2 separate regions of the Homo sapiens genome follow, and region 2 is linked to region 1. The links are contacts of gene promoters, found by promoter capture Hi-C in blood cells and fetal thymus (Javierre and others, 2016). All regions are on one chromosome and are shown on one strand. Each heading gives the region's core, a stretch centred on a gene start or on the middle of the fragment in contact. The rest is flanking DNA. Distances are from core to core; before and after follow the strand shown. Region 1 holds the start of BCL2L2 (BCL2 like 2). Region 2 holds the start of AJUBA-DT (AJUBA divergent transcript).

The links. The method cuts DNA at HindIII sites, captures the fragments that hold promoters and counts their contacts. A CHiCAGO score of 5 or more calls a contact.
Region 2: a fragment that was not itself captured here is called in contact with the fragment with the promoter of BCL2L2 in region 1 in 1 of 17 cell types (neutrophils); the score reaches 5.5 in neutrophils.

What each region holds. Positions count from the first base shown.
Region 1 is chr14:23,303,739-23,311,159 of GRCh38, forward strand. BCL2L2 (BCL2 like 2) reads left to right here and starts at 3,095. Exons shown (of 4, transcript NM_004050.5): 1 at 3,095-3,156; 2 at 3,454-3,541; 3 at 4,022-4,461; 4 at 5,078-7,421. The coding sequence starts at 4,030. The coding sequence ends at 5,227. It overlaps BCL2L2-PABPN1 (BCL2L2-PABPN1 readthrough), which reads left to right and starts at 3,095. Exons shown (of 8, transcript NM_001387346.1): 1 at 3,095-3,156; 2 at 3,454-3,541; 3 at 4,022-4,461. The coding sequence starts at 4,030. RefSeq lists an enhancer at 3,954-4,787. The HindIII fragment of the contact is 2,126 bases long and covers 2,342-4,467 here.
Region 2 is chr14:22,981,987-22,989,407 of GRCh38, forward strand. C14orf93 (chromosome 14 open reading frame 93) reads right to left here. Exons shown (of 7, transcript NM_021944.4): 6 at 5,917-6,029; 7 at 3,908-5,648. The coding sequence ends at 5,229. It overlaps AJUBA-DT (AJUBA divergent transcript), which reads left to right and starts at 2,338. Exons shown (of 3, transcript XR_007064074.1): 1 at 2,338-2,834. It overlaps AJUBA (ajuba LIM protein), which reads right to left and starts at 565. Exons shown (of 8, transcript NM_032876.6): 1 at 1-565. The coding sequence starts at 280. RefSeq lists enhancers at 1-579, 580-1,545 and a silencer at 4,745-4,854. The HindIII fragment of the contact is 743 bases long and covers 2,961-3,703 here.

The DNA of each region.
Region 1 (7,421 bases), core at 1,845-4,344:
GTGATCTGCCCGCCTCGGCCTCCCAAAGTGCTGGGATTACAGGTGTGAGCCACCCCTGAACTCAGAGCCATACTCTGAACTCAGTGTTCTTATCTGTAAAAAAGTGGTGGAGTTCTGATTTCTAATCCAAGTGTAAGCCCTTTGAGGGCAGGGGCTTTGTCTGATTCATGGTGAGTTTTAGTATATGGTAGGCACTCAAATTATTGAATGAACAAGCACCCAACAACTCTCTTGGAGTTGGGACTGTGGAATTATAGGTCCAGTGGGAGCTTCCAAGAAGGGCAGAGCTGGCTTTTTCCCCTTTCATTTTTTTTTTTTAACATTAGTGAAAAAAAAAAGTGAAGTTGTTTTTAGTTTTTTTCTAACTTTCCTACTGATCTAATATAGCACTTACAATGTGCTAGGTACTGTTGTAAGGGTTTTACAAATACTAACCCATGTAATACAACCATCAGAGGAATAGAGACTATTATGTCTAGTTTAAAGATGAGAGAATTGAGGGAGAGAGGGGAGAGGACTCTTACCCAGGGTCACATAGTTAATAATTGGGGAGGTGGGATTAGGACCTAAACAGTTTAGCTCTAGAGTCCACGCTCTTACCCGCTTGGTTATATAAGATTAAAACATTTAACAATAATAGTTAACATCCTCAGAGTGTTAAAAGAGGGAATATTAGAGTAGAAATGAAGTCTCTAAATTTAAAGCAGCAGGATAGTTTAACTGTAAAACCACAAGTGACTAAGTTGAAAATAAACCATGAGACACATGTTATCTTATTATTATACAATTCATTCCTGTTTACATGCATTCGCACTAGTATTGACTGTAGCAATACTAGTTAGCTAGGACTCATTTTTAAAGCAATATTGACTTTTTAAATTTTACACGTATATAGAATGCATGGATGTATTCTCTTCGTATCATTATATGTGATACAATATATACAATGTATATATTGTATATGCATATACAATATAATATATATAATGCATATAAATTAATGTCTAATAAATCATACATTAATTTATGTTACAATCAAGCTGGCCCAGGAGTTTGAGATCAGTCTGGGCAACATAATGAGATCCCTATCTCTATAAAAAATGAATTTAACCAAGCATGGTGCAGTACACCTCTAGTCCCAGCTACCAGGGAGGCTGAAGTGGGAAGATTGCTTGAGCCTAGACGGTGGAAGCTGAAGTGAACTGTGCTTGTACCACTGCACTCCAGTTTAGGCCATGGAGTGAGAACCTTGTATCACAAACAAACAAATAAACCAGGAGTGCAAATGAAGACTTGGACTAGGTTATTCTCTAAAGAAGAGGGCAACCTTGCTGGTGGCAGCCAGAATGATCAGGCTAAGAGCAAAAATGAAATGAGGATGGTTGAAAGGATACAGCCATAAAGGAGTGTAATAGGCTGTGTGTTTAGAATAGAGGAGAGAATTGAGTATGGACTTGTAAATGGTGTGGATTCAGACTATGAGAACCATATTGACTATGTGAAGGCAAGAGGTGATCTTGAAGCGATAGTGTCAAAGTTACAGCATGAGATGGCTGTGCTAGCTTCTTACATATCAGCCTATGGCTTTGGGAAAATCACTTAACCTCTCCAAACCTCAATTTCCTCATTCATAGAATGAGGATAAAACAGCATAAGGACTGGTGAGAGGAAAAAATACACATGTAAAAAAAGCACAGCATCTAATAACTCCTCAAAATATGTTAGTTTTTACCTTTTTTTTTTTTTGAGATAGAGTCTCGTTCTATCACCCAGTCTGGAGTGCAGTGGCATGATCTCAGCCTCCTGGGTTCAAGTGATTCTCATGCCTCAGCCTCCTGAGCAGCTGGGATTACAGGCTGGCTAATTTTTGTATTTTACGTCTGGCTAATTTTTGTATTTTTAGTAGAGATGGGGTTTTGCCATGTTGGTCAGGCTGGTCTCGAACTCCTGGCCTCAAGTGATCCACCCGCCTTGGCCTCCCAAAGTGTTGGGATTACAGGTATGAGCCACCGAACCCAGCTAGTTGTTACTGTTATTGCTGCAGAAAAGACCTTGCTTCTCCAGTGACCATAAGGGAAGATGGTAATACAGAGGCTTGGATTGGAGGTAGAAGCAAAGGGAGCTAGCAGAATAGGAGAATTAGGTTGCCTCTTTCTGGCCTTTGGTTGGGGCACTCTTTAAAAAAGTGCCAGATCCAAGAGCCCAGGGGGCTGGCTGTGAGTGCCCTCATGTGGATCAGCTATGGTCAGACTGCTTCACGCCTGTGACCTGCCCTGTATAAATATACTGCCATGTATAAATAATGGCCCCATATATATGTAATCTGGAAGGATAAACATCAAGCTTAACACTGGCAACCTGCAGGGAGGGAAGTGGAATTGGGTGTGTATGTGTGTGTGTGTTTGAGAACCTGTATTTTATTACTCCGCACGTCTTTATTGTTTGATTTTTTTCATAATGAGAATGAGTTTGTGTGTTGGGTAAAAAAAAGAAAAAGAAAAAAACCCCACTAAAATCAATCTAATTACAAAAGAAGATGAATTAAAGAAAAGTACCGAGAGAAACTGCTTGTGATCCAAGTCCTGGCTCCCTAATGCCTGGCTGAAGCCCAGCCCACAAAGAGAACACTGGGTTAAAGGTCCTGGAGAAAAGATGGGAAAGGTTTGGTGTCTATGTGGTGTCTGCTAGCCCCATAAGGGTAAGGCACCTGGTAGACGGTTCCCAGCTTAATGGGAACTGCTCCTGTTTTCCAGGCACACAGTTCAGGGCTGGAAAAGTTCAACAAGTGCATGGAACATCGGAAACCTCCTGAAAATGCTAAATTTGCCCCGAGATGTCCCGAAGTCCGGCATATTTCTCTGGGCAGCCTAGAGGCTCAGGAGCCCAGCCCAGCCCAGCCCACCGTGCCCTCTCAGCCAGCCCTTCTTTGCCTTCAGCAGCCCTCCCTCTTCCTGAGTAGTGGCCCTTTGCAGGCCTGCGTCCCAGCCCCGCCCCTCTCTCTGGACGCATCTCTGGGCCCCATCATCACCCGGCGCCGGGCCCTCCCTCTGCCCCCCCCTTTCTCCTCCCTCCTTCCTTCCCTCCCTTCCTCCCTCTCTCCCTCCCTCCCAGCTCCTGCACCAGGAAACGGCCCGGATCCCGGCAGCGGCCTGACCCGTGAGATCCCTAACCTGGCAGGCGGGCGGGGTTGGAGACTGGCTGAGGTGGGGGTAAGGGAGGAGCTGGGCCTTTGGGCTGCACTAGGGGGAACCGGGAATAGAGATGGTGTCGGCAGGAAGCCCTTGGCCTTGGGTTTCCCGGGAGGACAGTCATTAAACATGGATTCGGCCACACAGCTGGTAGAGCGTTGGGGGCAGGGGCCTAGGCCCAGAGCTGCAACCCTAGCCCTTCCCAGGCCAGAACCTGATCCCTGGCCTTCCCCTCCTGGTTCTGATCTCCCCCTCCCCTTTCCAGGGCTCCACGCTGGCCAGGAGGATGAAAGGCCCCAGCTGGGGGCTCCTTGCCACCAGTGCTGTGTCTTAAGAGCTGCCATCCCGGCTGGGTGAGTGTCTCCTTCCTTTCTCTGTCTGGAGTAACCCATTGCGTCTCCCACCTTTCTCTTCAGCCCATCTGCTCCCCCTCATCTTGTGTCTCTGCCAACATCTTTACATCTTGCATTTGGGGAGGTCCTAAGACCCTTCCTCTAGCCAAGAAGGTGTGGACTAAGGAGACCCGGGGGTGGGGGTGTTGTAGGGGTGTCATTGAGCTGACGTTGTCTTATTGTGAAAAGAATCTAAAGTATCCTAAACAGAAAATTTACTTGTTTTACATTTAATTTGGCATATTAGGAATGTAATGGCCAGCCACTCACAGCCTAGTCTCATATCATGACTTAATTCCCTTGTTCTTGCCTCTCCCTGTCCAGTGAGTCCTGAGCATTTCCTCTCTCCTCCTCATCTCACTGGGTTGGTCAAACCAGAAGTGCTCCTTCTGATTCTCTCTTCATATATTCATGCCAGTCTTTCATCCTTGCCTCTTATAGCCGCCCGGATGGCGACCCCAGCCTCGGCCCCAGACACACGGGCTCTGGTGGCAGACTTTGTAGGTTATAAGCTGAGGCAGAAGGGTTATGTCTGTGGAGCTGGCCCCGGGGAGGGCCCAGCAGCTGACCCGCTGCACCAAGCCATGCGGGCAGCTGGAGATGAGTTCGAGACCCGCTTCCGGCGCACCTTCTCTGATCTGGCGGCTCAGCTGCATGTGACCCCAGGCTCAGCCCAACAACGCTTCACCCAGGTCTCCGATGAACTTTTTCAAGGGGGCCCCAACTGGGGCCGCCTTGTAGCCTTCTTTGTCTTTGGGGCTGCACTGTGTGCTGAGAGTGTCAACAAGGAGATGGAACCACTGGTGGGACAAGTGCAGGAGTGGATGGTGGCCTACCTGGAGACGCAGCTGGCTGACTGGATCCACAGCAGTGGGGGCTGGGTAAGAAGCTTCTCAATTGCCGCTCTGCACATCCTTCTGCAAAGCTGGTCTCCAGGGGGAAGATGGGGGCTCTGATTGGAGGCTGAGGCAGCTATGTTGGGAATGAGGTACGGGGCTGAGTCTCCCCGTCTGGATGGAATTAGATTGAGAGATGCCTGGACTCTGCACTCCAGGGCTGCCATGCAGTCAACACTGGATGGGCTCATGGTCCCAAGCAGAGGACAGAATACACACCCAAGGAGTGCCTGCAGGGGAATGTTGTCAGGGACTTTTTACATCTGAGTCATGGCGTGGGAGGTGGGGAGGACCAGGGATGGGTGGTGGTCAGGCAAGCCTTGGCAAAGGATGCTAGTTCTGAGCAGAATTTTTCGCCAAGGAAAGGATGGAATTCACTGGAGGCAGAGTGGGCAGATGAACCAGTCTCTCAGGGTGGGGGTGCACCTGGGGGGATCAGAGGGGCTTGCAGGGAGAAGAGCTTTGGCCAGAGAGGAGCTGGGTATGGGGTAGTGCTCGCAGTGGATGGAACTGGAACTCTTCCTCTCCTCTTCTCTCCACTCTTTCCTCTCCTGATATCCCTTTCTCCTTCTTTCTCTCCTGCTTCCCTTCTCTCCCACAGGCGGAGTTCACAGCTCTATACGGGGACGGGGCCCTGGAGGAGGCGCGGCGTCTGCGGGAGGGGAACTGGGCATCAGTGAGGACAGTGCTGACGGGGGCCGTGGCACTGGGGGCCCTGGTAACTGTAGGGGCCTTTTTTGCTAGCAAGTGAAAGTCCAGGGCCAGGTGGGGCTAGGTGTGGCTGGGGGCCAGGAGAGCAGGAACAGAACAGAGAAATGCCCTTGGAAGAAGTGGAGTTGGTGGATGGGTGGGCATGGAACAGGATGGGCAGAGAAAGGGTAGTGTGTGAGGGAGCTGAGTAGGCCAGGTAGGCGATTGGAAGAGTGAGCAGGACACAGAGGGGAGGGGAATGTTTTGGCAAGTTTAGGGGCACAGGAGATGTAGTCGTTCCAGGGCTGGGGGAGGTGGGAGGGATCACGCCTATAGGTGTGGGCACATGAAACGACCTGGAACTTGCTTCACAGCCCTGAGGAAGGTGGACTTACATAAGCAGCTGTATTCCATTAGATGAGTGGGATTTAGGGAACGCAGAAGGCACATCCCTTTGGAATGGAAGCTTAGGGGTTCTCAGGTGATAGGGAGAGGTGGCTGTTAACAGTGGGCTGCTTGGACACGCGTGTGCATGTGCACGCATGCTGGTGTGCATGCTGGGCTGCCTGGCAAATCTGGTGGTGATGGGATTCCTCAAGGAGAAAACATTCCCTCTTGCAATGGCAAGAACTAGGGGCAGTTCTCTGTCCCTCCTCCCAACCCCTCCTTTCCCCTGCCCTTGTCCTGATGCCTCAAGGCTTAGAGAGAAACATTGTATCCAGACCGAGGGCTCTGCTGCTTCTTTCCAGAAAGTGATTGGCAAGGCTTTGGAGAGAAGAGCAGTTCTGCAGCTGGCCTTGTTCCTTCATCATCCCCCTTCCTTGTGCATTATGCACTTGCTGCTGCCTCCTGGGCTCTGATAGAAGGGCAGGGCTGTTGAGCCTGGATGGGTGGAGGCTTAGGTAGCCGGACCTGCCTGCCACCCTCCTCTCCCACTCAGGCACAATGGTGCCTAAAGTGTTTCCAATCTCTGGGACCTCTGTACCCAAACTGAAACTCTAAATTGGGGCCCTAACTAATTTTCCTTTTGAGGTTGTGGGCATAAGTGCTGATCTAGAATACAGTCTGGGTCCCACACTGTGTCTCAGTGAGACTGTTGATGCCTTGAGATGACCATTTCAGATCTGAATCCCATGGGTGTGAGGGTGATGGGTACTCCAGGACTGGCCTATGCTGTGTTGTGGGCTTTGGTTCGGCTTTATCAGGGGCCAGGCATATGGGTTCTAGAGTACCTACCATGACCTAGAAGCATTTATGATTTATTTGAAGCCACACTGTTTGCATGGGTGTTACTTGTCTGTACCTCAGAGTCTGAGGATGTTAACTTTGGAACTCGCAGTCCTCTAGAACAGCTTCAGATTATGGCTTTTTCTTTTGAGGAAGAAATTATTCACTCCAGATGCATGCCCTGAGCCAGACCTCACTGCTGCACTTTCCAAGGTGCTAAGATTGCTGCTCTCCAATGCTAACTTTCTGACACAGTGCTCTAGAACCCTGCCTGTGGTCCTGAGCACTGATCACCTTAGCTAGACCATGGTTGACTCTTCTTGGAGATTTTCACTTGGTCCTAGAATGTGGCAACGTAGTTGTGCTCGCCAGAACGTGGGACCAAATTGGCCTCAGGTGTTGAGTCCAGACTTCTGCTTTTGAGAGAGGGCTGCACTTTTTCATGGTATTTCTAGGGGAGGTGGTAGGCTGCATGTGCCACTTGGTCTTGTTGTGAGTATGCTGACACCAGAAACTCAGAGCCAGCTTGTGGCAAGCAGTTGGGGTGGGGGGTCTCTGACTTGCTCAGGACAAACTAGGCCAGTGGTTTTCAAACTGCTTGGCAGAGCCCTGAAGTTTCCTAGGGGTTGCCTCAGGAGTCCTTGGGGAGATGAAGGGGGTGGGGAGCTGAGCAGGCTGGGCAATTTGCCCTCAAACAGAACAGCTCCCCTTGTAGCTGTCTTACATATTGGGGTTCAGGGTAAGATTTTATTTGCATTAAGGGGTTTGCTGCTGAAAAAAAGTTGGAAAACCACTGACTAGACCATCGGCTCCAAATTGGAGTCTGTGCTTCCTTCCCCAGGTATGGAGCACACTCTTCACCCTACCCTCTACCACAGGACACATATCCCTGTTAGCATTCCCCGGGACCTTTAGCCAAGAGGAGCTGCAGGGACCATGGCCAGGTTACCAAAATGCCCTGCTCTGAAGCCTTGACACCTGGGTGGAAAGAGAGGCTGTTTTCTGAAAGGGTAAAGGGCTTGGTCTGG
Region 2 (7,421 bases), core at 2,082-4,581, 320 kb before region 1:
GCGGCCCCGCGGGAAAAGAGCCTTCGTAGCGCGGCGCCTCAAAGGAGCCGCGCTGATTTCGCTCAGCGTCCAGGGAACCTTGCTCCCGGGCCGGCTCCAACGGCTCATCCCCAGGTCCCCCAGTAGCTCCTCGGGGCCCTGACTTCCTAGGTCCCCCCAACCCACTTAGGCGCCCCTTGCCCGGCCCGGGGGTCCCGTCAGACCCAGACCGGCTAGATTCACCCTTTCTGCGGCCGAACTTCTCCAGCAGGCGACTGGCTTTCTCTCCTAACCGCTCCATGCCCTCGGGCCTGGGGCCTCTCGCCCCCTCCCCGCCTGGCACCCTGCGGCGTCTCGGCGGCCGGTTCTCTTTCCCTGCAGCCGGACTCTGGTTCCCCAGGGGCACAGGGGAGGCACAGGGGCTTAGCGGGCGGCCTGGATGCCCTGCGCCAGGAATCCCACAGCATCCCCCAGCGGGAGGGGCTGCGTCCCCCCGCGCATCTGGGGCTGAGCGGGGCTAGCAGGGTCTCTGGCCGCGGCTGTCCAGTCCGCAGGTCTATCTGTTCACGCGTCGACTCGCCCGACTGCCCCACTCTCCCCGGCCCCCGCCCCCCTAGCTCTCACGCTAGCCACAGACCGAACTTCTCTCCCAAACTTTTGTCTGCCTGGCCGGATCTACTTTCCTAGGGGGGCGGAGCGCGGTGTGTGCGAGAGCGCCGGGGGTGTCCGCGCAGGGATAGCTGGTGTGCGTGCAGCGGAAGGCGCTAACTGCCCTGGATGTGGAGACCCGCGGACTGGACGTGAGAGGCGGGCAGGGGCAGTTGGGGCAGCTGCCCCTACAACACTGAAGAATTGGAATAGGAAAGAGTGTGGGGGTAGGGGACGGGGACTCTTTGTCTGCAGTTGGAATGCGCGGAGGGGCATGGTGGAATGTGTCGCGTCCCGGGACCGGACGACAGGAGGCATGTTCTGCGCTAGCACCGTGACTTTGTTCCCAGCGTGGGGACTGTGGGAGAGATGGAGAGAGACTGGTACAGAAATGGTGAGACAAGGAGAGAGCCATAAAGAGGAAGACAGAGAGAAAGAAGACAAATGCATAAAGAGGTTCAGAGACGTGTACGTAAAGATAGCCCTGAAAGGCGACGAAGCCCACAGAGAGAGGTGGAAGAGGGAAGAGGTAGCGAAAGAAAGGGAGAGCTGAGGAGCAAAGAGGAGTGTGGACGATGCAGAGACCGAAGGGTGCGCAGACAAAGGAAAGGACAAGCTTGTCCAGAGAGAATGAGAGACAAACAGATAAACTGCAATAAAAAGGCACCACCTTCTGGACCCAAAAGTTTTGTGATTTGTAAAAGCAGTGAAAAGGAGTCAGGAAAATGGGACTAATCTCTACTTTGAGAGGGAGGGAAAGAGATATAGTGTGTATGTAGAAGCAGTGAAAAGGAGTGAGGAAAAGGTTTGGGACTAATCTCTACCTTAAGGGTAGGACAGTTAGAGGGATAGACACCCCCTGGTGTTGGGAAATGAGATTTTTCTCATTTCAGGTGACTGTGGAGATCGAAGGCCTGGTTTTAGGGCTAGCGAACACCTTCTCCCTTTGGTTTTGGTCCACAGAAGACTGGTGATACAGAGTAAGTATTAAGAGGAAGAAAAGAAATGCCGTGTAGAGGAAATTGCAAATGAAAATGATCAGGATGGAAAAGAGGCTGATATTGACTATTTTAAAAGGATCAAGAATAAGGAAAAGAAACCCTGGCTGAAGCAGCCGGGCGCGGTGGCTCACGCCTGTAATCCCACCACTTTGGGAGGCTGAGGCGGGCGGATCACTTGAAGTCAAGAGTTCAGACCAGCCTGGCCAACATGGTGAAGCCCTATCTCTACTAAAAATACAAAAATTAGCCAGGCGTGGTGGCGCACGCCTATAGTCCCAGCCACTCGAGAGGCTGAGGCGGGAGAATCGCTTGAACCCGGGAGACAGAGGTTGCAGTGAGCCAATATCACGGCCACTGCACTCCAGCCTGGGCGACAGAGCAAGACTCCGTCTCAAAAAAATTCTCAAAAATAAATAATAATTTTTTTTAAAGAAACCCTAGATGAAGCTAAACATACCTAATTAAATACCAGCCAACGGCCGGGAGCGGTGGCTCACGCCTGTAATCCCAGCACTTTGGAAGGCAGAGGCGGCGGGATCACGAGGTCAGGAGTTTGCAACCAGCCTGGCCAGTATGGTGAAACCCCGTCTCTACTAAGAATACAAAAATTAGCCGGTGTGGTGGCGTGCACCTGTAGTCCCAGCTACTTGGGAGGCTGAGGCAGAAGAATCGCGTGAACCCAGGAGGCGGAGGTTGCAGAGAGCCGAGATTGTGCCATTGCACTCAGGCCTGGGCGATAGAGGGAGATTCCGTCTCAAAAAAATTTTTTAAAAACCAGCCAACTACTTTTGCCCAGACTAAAACATCAGGGGCAAGGGGTGGAGGAAGTAGAATGGAGAAGGAAAATGACTCCTTTGTATTTAGATAGTAAATGAGTATGAAAATTATATGCAAACAAGTCATGCATATTATTTTCATCTCAACATTTTGAACACCTTTTATAATCTTAGTGTAGCCTTAGGGAATGTGGAAAGAAACGAGGTTAATATCTTTTGGGAAATTAATTTGTGCCAAACTATTTGGCTTCTTCGTCCTAGTTGCATTGTCTCCCTGACCTCATCTCCCCTGAGAATCAGCCTCTGTTTCCCTGGTCAAGGCCACGGCTTTTCTCTGATCCTGAGGAGAGTTTCCTACCAGAGTGGAAGCAGGGAGGACTGAAAGCACTAGGAACAGAGGGGAGCTATCGGATTGCATCTAGAACCTGCTGTGAGCAACATCTTCAGAATTAACCATAATGTGTTCCCTCCTTTCCTGTGTCCAGATGAGGAAGGAGAACTTTGATTCTTCCTTCCAATTACATCCAAAATATCCACACAACTACTAATATTTGGAAGCTTTGATCCTTTGGGGTGAGGATGCGAGAGGAAATCTTATGAAATGTTGGGAGGCCATTAAAGGAGGCCCATGCAAGAGTTGGTGGTAGCAATGGGCACAACTGGGATGAACAGCCTGTGTTTTCAAGGGATAACTGGAAGCAGAGATGAGTGAAGGGGAAGAAGTAGAAGACGCATATGCTAATAGGGCATGCTCCAATAGTGCTCATGACCTCAGGTGGCCTCTCCACAGTCTAAACTGGAGCTGGGATCTCCAAAGGCCCTCTTCGTTCCCAAGACTTTAATTATAATCTGTATATGCAGGTGACTCCCTAATCCATATTTCCAGCCCAGTCTTTCTTGGAATTAAAAACTCAACTAACTACTAGCATCTCCAATGGCTGTCTCAGAAGCACCCAATATCCTAAACTGATCTCATCTTCTCTGCCTCATGAAACTGGCTCCTCTAACATTCTCTGAGTAAATGGCACAATCCTGTTAGCTGCTTAAACTAGAAATCTGAGCGTCAACCCTATGTCCTCCTTCTCCCTTAACCTCAAATCCAACCAAGTCCTATCAATCACCAAGTTCTATTAATTCTGCTTCCTAAACATCTTCCAAATCTGTCCTCCCCTCATCACCACTATATATGTCAAGTCACCGTCTTTCCTCTCCGAAACCAATGCAAAAGTCTCCTGGCCAAGGCTTGCTCCCTGCAATCCATCTTATACCCTGAGGTCAAGTGATTTTTTTCAGTACAGAAGCTTTACGACTTACAATGGAGTTATGTCTGAATAAACCCATCCATTATAAATTGAAAATATCGTAAGGCAGAAGTGCTTCTTCAACTTCACCATATTTTCAGCTTAAAATGGGTTTATCTGATATAACTGCATCATAAGGTGAGGAGCATACTGAATCATTTCGCACCATCGTAAAGTTGAAAAATCCTAAGTCGAACCATCGTTGAGTTGGGGACTGCCTGTAGGCAAAACCTGTCGTTTTATTTCCCTGCTAAAACAAACTTTCAATGATTTCTCACTGCCCTTGGGTTGAAGTCTGTACTCTGTATTATGAGGTCTGTCTCACTCTCCAGCCTCTCCTCTAGCATTATCCCTTCCCCAAAAGTCTGCAGTAGAACTGGACCTTGTCTGTACTCTCTCTTGCCCCTGGACTTTTGTACCTGCAGTTCCCTGTTTGGAACACTCTCTTAGCCTCCCCTTTCCTTCTGGTTAACTCTTCCCCAGTTTAGACATTACACCCTCTCAGAAGAAGCCTTTCCAGACTGCAAGAGTAGGTTAGCTACCCCTGCTGTATATTGCCATAGTGCACTACACTCCACCATGGTCACCCTTATCACAGTTCATTTCATTGCCTACTCCACTGCCTGGCTTCCTGACTAAACTAAAAAAATCTCTGAACAGCATCCAACCTTATCAACAATGTATCCATAGCACAGTACCTGACACCTAGTAAAGCGATCAATGTTTGTTATAAGACTGAATAAATGTAAAGCCATTTTTGCTTTTCAATCCATCCAAAATGCACACCCCTTCCTCAAAATACAGCTTGGCTGACAGGACCAAGAAACAGCTACAAAGCTGTGTATTTTGCTTGGTCACATAGTGAGAGAGAGGCTGCCGGTGAGACACGGGAACTCTTTAAGCCTTAATTTCCTCATCTGTAAGATAGGAATAGTAAAATTTTCCTCATGTAATTCAATAAACAATAGCTATTATATCAGGAACCCAATTCCCCAATAGTGATAGAACTTGTGTTCCCTTGGTCAGAAGACTCAAGCTCATGACTGAAACTGCCCACCAGGTGGCGGTATTAACCTGCACTGGTCATGTTCGGTTTCCACTGCAGAGCAAGACAAGTAGTCACAGGGAAGCAAAAGGTACAACCTGGGCTGCTTCCTCAGAGCTTTGGGTGGAACTGGGCAGGGGCAGAAACAACTCAGAGACAGGGCATATGTCAAGAAGGCCTCATGTTTCTTGGACCCATCCTCCTCATTTTCTCATCCCAGGCTTCTCCGAGATACTGTTTATGCTGAGGAATAAGCATATTCTGGCTTACTGTTCACAGTGGAGGGAGTTTCTCCCCTTCTAGATAAGTTTTTATCCCACCAGTGTTCTGCTTCCCCAGTAGAGACTGTGTTAAGAAAAGAGGCAAATTTGCTTTCTCAGACTGCACAGAGCATCTCATTATTTTGTGAAGCCCCATGGCCACCTATTTCTGAGACATGGGGCATGGCGGAAGCCAGAGTTATTCTTGGCTGTAGATTTTATTCATCCTTTTCCACCTTGATTTCAATGAATGAGTTCAAGTCAGGACAGCAGGTTTTGTGGGGTTGGTCAAAAGATGGGGAGCCAGGTGCATTCTCATCCCCTCCCTCATCTTCCTCTTCTTGGAAATTAGGATTGTAAAGTTCTGGTGGAAGGAGCTGGGCTTCAGCAGAAGGCAGTCTGTCTGAGGGAGGCCCATACACACGGTTGGCTTTGGTGCCATGCTTAGAGTTAGCATCCAGGTGGTAGCAGAGCTCTGTGAGGCGCTGGGCCCGGAAACGGGGAGGGCGGGCCACCCACACACCTGGCTCGTTAAGACTGTCCTCTTCATCTGACATCAGTTCCTCTGTCACATCATTCCACAGACGTTGGTCCTCAGGTCCAAAATGCCTCATGATACTGGATCGGTTGGCAAAAAGCTAAGGCAGGAACCCAGGAGATAGATTAGGAAGGTAAACATTCTATGGATTAGATTTGGGGAAAAGGTTTGGTGGGGAAGGCTGTGTAAAATCTGTGCCTAAGTGAACCCAGTCCCCAAGTCAGATCTTAGCATTGGCTCACTGTTCTTCTCTATCTTCCTACATTCCTGGCTCTCAACCCTATTCTCATATGCCATGTCCTCTGGCCCTTCCCACTTAGGAAAGGGTTTAGAGTTTAGTATCTTGAAAGAAAGGCCTAGAAACCTACCCGATATCGGCGACTTCGAAGTTTCTTCTCCTCTTTTTCCTTCAGGCCTTTAAAGGGGTTCAGGGAGTTGCGGTACTCACGCCTCTTAGTAAGGAAGTAGGCCACACAGGCTCCTGGCGGGGAGGGAAGGAAGGGAGCAAGAAGGAGGGTCCTCTGAGTAGTGGTCCCCAGCCCGTTTTTCTGCCCTAACACTATTGAATGGGAGGTTGGCGATCACTACTTAGATGAGGGCTTTTTTTTTTTTTTTTGAGATGTAGTTTCACTCTTGTTGCCCAGGCTGGAGTGCAATGGCACAATCTCGGCTTACCACAACCTCCGCCTCCTGGGTTCAAGCGATTCTCCTGCCTCAGCCTCCCGAGTAGCTGGGATTACAGGCATGTGCCACCACATCCAGCTCTTTTTAGTAGAGATGGGGTTTCTCCATGTTGGTCAGGCTGGTCTCAAACTACTGACCTCAGGTGATCCACCTGCCTTGGCCTCCCAAAGAGCTGGGATTACAGGCGTGAGCAGCCGTGCCTGGCCTAGATGCTGGGCTTTCTTGGCATAGGCATTAGCATCTTCACTCCTCTTTGGTTAGGATTCTTTTTATTTATTTATTTTATTATGATTTTGTTATGAGACAGGGTCTCGCTCTGTCACCCAGGCTTGAGGGCAGTGGCATGGTCATGCATGCTCACTGCAGCCTCCAACTCCTGGGCTTAAGTGATCGTCCAGCCTCAGCCTCCTGAGCAGCTGGGACTACAGGTGCACATCACCATGGCCGGCTAATTGGTTTAGCTTTCTTTGCCCACCTCCATCTCCAACACTAACTCCTCCCAAATATCTCCCACTGGAAAAAGACAACTCCAATCGCTTCTGTGTCTCCCCGCTCCCTCCACCAAATAAAACCTACCCCTTCTTGGGCGTGGTGGCTCACACCTGTAATCCCAACATTCTGGGAGGCCTCCTGCTGAGGCAGGAGGATTGCTTGAGCCCAGGAGTTTGAGACCAGCCTGGGCAACATAGTGAGACTCAGTCTCTATTTAAAAAAAAATTTAAAAACAACAACAATCTACCCCTATTGCCACTCTGATGGAAGATTACAAGTATTTTTTTATTTTTCGTTGAAACAAGGTTTGCCCACAGTGGAGTTCAGTGACACGATCTTGGCTCAATGCAACCTCCACCTCGCAGGCTCAAGCAATCCTCCCACCTCAGCCTCCCAAGTAGCTGGGACTACGTCATGCATGCCACCCCACCCAGTTAATTTTTGTTATTTTTGTTTGTTTTTGGTAAAGATTGGGTTTCGCCATGTTGCCCATGCTAGTCTCGAACTCCTGGACTGAAATAATCCTCCTGCCCTGGCTTCCCAAAGTGCTAGGATTACAGGGATGAGCCACGTTACCTGGCTCTACAAGTACTTTTTCAGCAGAAGCTTTCATAATACTTCAGGGTTAGCTACAAATAACAAAAGAGAGCAAGGAAAGAGAAAGCCTGGGAAATAATATTTAGGGACCAAGGGGCAG